Linked DNA regions of Homo sapiens: region 1 is linked to region 2. The links are contacts of gene promoters, found by promoter capture Hi-C in blood cells and fetal thymus (Javierre and others, 2016). All regions are on one chromosome and are shown on one strand. Each heading gives the region's core, a stretch centred on a gene start or on the middle of the fragment in contact. The rest is flanking DNA. Distances are from core to core; before and after follow the strand shown.

Region 1 (2,741 bases), core at 50-2,549, 33 kb before region 2:
GTGGTCCTCCAGTGTGTTCCAGAAGCAGAAGCCCGGGAGGTTGTAAGGCTTTTTCTGGATGCTTTGGAAAAATCACGGGGCAGAGCTTTGCATTCGACTTACCCGCATGGGACGGCAGTGGGCTTAGTGTTGAACAGAGTTGAGTTAGGGACGTAGTGCTGCTCTTTGCCGGCAGTGAAATCTTGAGAAAATTTTGTATTTTTTTCTCTAAGCTTGTCTCCTCATTTGTAAATTGAGAGTTATTACTAATACCTAGCTCATAGGGTTGCTCTGAGCACTTGAAAAATCTATTTAGAAATTAGCTAAAAATGGCAGACTGAACCCCAACCACTTTTTCCTGTCCCAAACCCTTAGAAATACCAGAAAAAATAAATACATGTCATCCAAAAATGTTCTAGGAGACGAGAAGGGGCCTCGGTGGATTTAAAGTTGCGAGGAATTATTGAAAGAAGGAAATTGGTGGGGTTGAAAGGAAGAAACCACTGCCCAAAATACGTATAGGGAGACCTGCTGTCATAGGCAGTTTTGAAGGGAATTTAAGCTTGAAGATGGTGAATGGGGTGGTGGTGACTGGTAGGTCGTGGGTTAGGATGTTGCAGTAGGAACCACAAAGCCAGCCAGCTATCTACTCCTCCCACCACACCTTTCCCACTTAGCCAAATAGCAGGCAGCAGGGATCTCTGTCTCCCTCCTGCCAGTGTGAACGCCCAGCCTAGGGAGGCAAGGTGACACTCTGGACAAACGGACCTCGGATGCAGGCACACCACGTCCACCAGCTTGTTTTCCACCCACGGTCATCTCTCCCACACCGTGGCTGGAGGCATCACCCATAGACTGGGTAACAAAGAACCTCAAACACAAGACGAGCACACACCAGAGCCGCTGAACACTGAGGAAAGCACTGCCATGACTGGGACGCAGAGCACAGGAAACAGACTGATACCCAGATAAACAGCAAGCAGAGCACACGGACGAAGCACAGTTAATCTCAGAAAGCTGTGAGAGGAAACGGTGTGAGGCCTTAGAAATAAAAAAGAAGACGCTCAAAGGTATATTCAAAAAGGGGCTTTTGGAGTATGATCAGACTGGATGTAGGTCAATAATAGCATATTAGTGAACTGGAAAATCAAATTGAGGACTTCATCTAGAATGCCCCGCAAAAAGAAGAGATAGAAAGCATAAAATAAAAGTGAGGATATATGAAGACTAGATTCAGAAATGTTAATACCTTTTAAATAGGAGCTCCAGAAAGAGGGACTAGAGAGGTTGGATGTGGGGAACGCTAAGATTAATAGAGAAGGAAATTTCTCAAGTCTACAAAAGACAAAAGTCCTCATCCTGAAGGGGCCCACTTCATGACAAGCAGAACAGAAAATGATAGACTGGCTGGGCTGAAACTTAGAACATGAAGGATGGAGAAAAGGAAAACAGATTACTCCTAAGAGAAAGCAGACTAATATTAGATTTAGCTACAACACTGCATGTTGGAAGATCTTCAGAGACCCAGGGGAAATATTTTTAGAGATCTAAGGGACACATGTTTGAATCGGCTAAAGCCATCATTCAAGTGTGAAGGTAAAATATGTAAAGACAATTTCAGACATCCACAGATGAGAAAATGAGTCACCTTCCATCCTACCTGTAGGAGGAGGTACTTCAACACAATGAAAATAAATCCAAGAGAAAGCTACAGATTCAAGAAGCAGTGGTGAGTAAAGGAATTAGAATTTGCTGCTAAGTCTAAATGGAACTGGAACTAAAAGCTCAAGTGGTATTAACATTGCAGGTGGGGAGGAGAAGGAGAGGAAGGAAGTCCAAGTGGGCTAAGGTTTGTGCTTTGCCGAGCATAATGACAAGGGGCACTACACTTACACAGGCTATAAGGGAAAATAAAATAATGGACAGATGTTGGAGTTAAAATTTAAAGGTAAGCACTTAATCAGAAATTAAATGAAGAAGAGCTGGTCAATTGATAAAAAAGGAAAACCGTGGGGAAAAGTAGAAAGCATGGTACATATATTAATAAATATAAAACAATATGGCAGAAACAAGCTTTGACATGTCAGTAATCACAATAAATGGGAATGGTTTGAATTGTCTCATGAAAAACAACAAATCAGGAGGAAAAGAAATCCCTAAAATGCAGCTACATGCTATTTCTGAGATACAAAGAAATAATGACAGAAAAATTGAAAACGAAAGGATGGAAAAAAGGTACATCAAATATATGCTAACAAAAAAGGTAACAAGTTTAATAATGTCATAAAAATGGAATTCAAGGCAAAACAAAAGGAAAAAAGAAAATATTTCATAATGATGTAACAATTATGAACTTTTATTCATCTAACAACCTAACATCAAAGTATTGGGAGAAAAGCACACCATGCTGTTTTGTTTACTATAGCCTTGTAGTATAGTTTGAAGTCAGGTAGCGTAATGCCTCCAGCTTTGTTCTTTTTCCTTAGGATTGTCTTAGCTATGTGGGCTCTTTTTTGGTTTCAGATGGGCTCACAGGAAACTGGTCACAGTGTCTACTCCCAGGGAAAGAATCTGGGTGATTGGGGGATGAGAAGAAGAGACTGTTCTTCTACTCTATGCCCATTGGTACCTCTTAAAATAGATATTTCTTTGACCCAAAATGGAGATAAAATGCATAGGTACTGGAAAGGAAGAAAATTGTTTTATTAGCAGATGGTACAACCTTCTACTTGGATACCCAAGAACATTATTTGGCAAATGAT
Region 2 (2,936 bases), core at 71-2,570:
ACGAACACACTGGGCCATGGGGCAGCACTGAGCGGTGGTGGAAGAACCCCGAGTAGCCGGAGAAAGAGCAGGAGGGCCTTCCAGGGAAGAGGGAATGGCCTGTGTGAACCCAGGCTGAACCTCTCATTCCTGGGACTCGATTTCTCCATTTGTACAAACTGCTTGGTTTGTGGTCTGCAAGAGCCCTTCCTGTTCCTCCAGGAAGCCTCTCAGGGACCTCTGTCCCTGGCCAGCTCTGCTCCTCTGACCGCTGCGGGTCCTGCAGGCCATAGCCCTGGCTCCTGTGTGTGCACCAGACACGTCTAGGCCTCTTCAGCGGGACCTATCTCTCTGCTCAACTCAATCAACAGTTCTTTAGAAATTTCCAGGGGCAGCAAAGTGCTGTAGCCCCTGACATGTTTTAGGGCTGAATGGGGGTGGGTATCAGCAGACTCAATACGTATTTATTAACTTAAAAGAAGTGTCATTGGTCTATTGGCAAAGCTGGTTAGCAATAACCTTATCTTCTCCAGGAATAATGATCACTAATCATTCCTTCCTGCTGGGGGTAGGAGACAACCCGGCGTATGGTGGTGGAGCACCTGGGAGACAGAGGCAGAGATCTCGTTCCTCGATCCCGGCGCGTTGGTTGTAAAGTAGGAACAGTAATAGCACCTACCTCTAGGGCCACGGAGACCGAATGAAATAATGCCTGTCAAGTCACTTAGTACACAGTAAGCACTCAGTAATGCTAGGTTGTTGTTATTATAATAAATTTTTAGCGAACGGGAAGACCAAGCACCGGTTGGTACTGGGCTAGGCGCCGTAGGCAAAGATGTGGAGATGTCCCGGAGGCGCCTAGGGTATCCGGGCGAAAACCCGAGGGCCGAAGGCTGGGAGGAGGCGGAGCGTCGGGCACCGGGCACCGGGCACCGGGCGGGAGGTGAGCCCCTGGAAAAGGAGGGGGCTCCGGGCGCGTTCTCCCAGCAGCCGCGGCTCCTCTGTTCAGGGCCGCGCCCCCTTCGCCGCACTTTCTCTTTGATTTCGAAAGCACTCCTCTCCTCCACCTAGTCTCCTTTCCTGGGTTGCAGGAGATTACTGCTTGCGGGGAAGACCAAGACGCCAGGCCGGCGGATTAGTCCCCGCCCCGGGGCGGTGCAGCTGGAGCGTCAGGGGAGTCCCGCTCGCCGCAGCCCCAGCGCCGCGCGCGCCCCTCCCTCCTCGCGGACCTGGCGGTGCCGGCGCCCGGAGTGGCCCTTTAAAAGGCAGCTTATTGTCCGGAGGGGGCGGGCGGGGGGCGCCGACCGCGGCCTGAGGCCCGGCCCCTCCCCTCTCCCTCCCTCTGTCCCCGCGTCGCTCGCTGGCTAGCTCGCTGGCTCGCTCGCCCGTCCGGCGCACGCTCCGCCTCCGTCAGTTGGCTCCGCTGTCGGGTGCGCGGCGTGGAGCGGCAGCCGGTCTGGACGCGCGGCCGGGGCTGGGGGCTGGGAGCGCGGCGCGCAAGATCTCCCCGCGCGAGAGCGGCCCCTGCCACCGGGCGAGGCCTGCGCCGCGATGGCAGAGATGGGCAGTAAAGGGGTGACGGCGGGAAAGATCGCCAGCAACGTGCAGAAGAAGCTCACCCGCGCGCAGGAGAAGGTGAGCGAGCCGGAGCCCCAGCAGCCGCGGAGTCCCAGCCGCCGCGGAGCCCCGGCCACCTGTCCCCCTATCCTCCGACCCCGGGGCCTGGTCCTTCGCCAGGATCTGGTGCTGTCACCTCTAGAGGAGCGCTTTCGAGGGGCTTCGAGGTCCCCAGGCTGCGTTCCCCGGCGCTCTGGGTGCCCTCTTAGGTTTGCGTCCTCTGTCTCCCCACACCCGGCCGGGGCAGGACAGGGCCCCGCTTTGCACCTTCGTGGCTCGGCTGCACAGCAGTGGCCGGCCCTGCTCCAGGCTCTTCTCAGGCGCGCGCTCCAGGCTACCCCGCTTTGGAGGCCAAGGGCCGGGAGGCTGGGAGGCCAGGTGGTGACCCTCAGCTCTCCAGGCCCATGCAGGCAACCTAGGCTGGGCCGGCGCTCGGGGCGAGAGGGAGTATGTCCCTCTGCCCCTGGGGACACTATTCCCCCGGACTCCCAAGGCTGCTTCTCGAACCGGCACCCACAGTTCCTTCCTTCCCACTGCTTCTCCACTTTCGTTCTCCGTGGGCCGAAGGAGGGATTGGGTTTCCTTTCCCGAGAGGTGCCTGCGGCCTGGAAGCTCCCGCCCAGCCCGGCCCCACCGGGAGCCCAGGGCTACGCACCCCGCAAGGAGGTGCCCTCGCCCCAGCAGGGGCTTAGCGTTTCCGGCGGCCGGGGAGCGGGTGGCGGCACTGGCTTTGGGAGCCCACGGCCGGGTGGGGAGCTGGCCTGGAGGAGGCGCGTGGAAGGCGCCACAGGAAACCCGACCCCTCCTCGCGGAGAGCTGGAATGGGGGATGGAGCCGGGGCCTCCCAGGGTGCCCAGAGCGTGCAGGAAATGCAGAGATTGAGGGGCGGGGGTCTGCACCCGGTCAGTTGTCTATCCCAAGCCACCTCTGGTTTATTGAATTGGATCACGCCAGCTGCTGACGCCACTTCCCCTGACGACTCCAACTCTGAAATCTGAGATTGCAGAATCTGTGTTTCTGCCAGGGTGGCCCCCCAGTGCCCCGCGGCCAGGCCTGCCCCCTCTCCCACCCGCTGCGCGGCCGCCGGGTGGAGGCGCAGGGACAGGCCGGCCTTCCCCTGCCAGGCCTGGTGGCTGTTTATAAACAATGACTTTTGCTTCTGAGACCCGCGGGCTCCCTAAGGATGCAACCACGTGATTGCTGGGGGATGGGGGAGAGGGGGGCGCCTAGAGCTTCCCCATACCTCCCTCAGAGTCCTACTGCTCATCCCTGTGTTTCCTGGCTAAGGAGGTGGGTGGGTGTGCATTGAAGGAAGGGCCCTCAGCCAAGTCCAGGTTTGC

The links. Contacts are between HindIII fragments. The CHiCAGO score rates a contact against its expected background, and 5 or more counts as called.
Region 1: a fragment that was not itself captured here is called in contact with the fragment with the promoter of BIN1 in region 2 in 1 of 17 cell types (endothelial precursors); the score reaches 6.6 in endothelial precursors.

Annotation. Positions count from the first base shown.
Region 1 is chr2:127,138,893-127,141,633 of GRCh38, reverse strand. No RefSeq gene overlaps it. Among named protein-coding and RNA genes, the nearest start is that of BIN1, 33 kb to the right of the region's middle. The HindIII fragment of the contact is 1,511 bases long and covers 544-2,054 here.
Region 2 is chr2:127,105,538-127,108,473 of GRCh38, reverse strand. BIN1 (bridging integrator 1) reads left to right here and starts at 1,320. Exons shown (of 19, transcript NM_139343.3): 1 at 1,320-1,614. The coding sequence starts at 1,531. It overlaps LOC105373605 (a long non-coding RNA gene), which reads right to left and starts at 1,329. Exons shown (of 4, transcript XR_923311.4): 1 at 659-1,329. RefSeq lists silencers at 1,193-1,252, 1,087-1,381, 1,263-1,472. The HindIII fragment of the contact is 12,156 bases long and covers 1-2,936 here.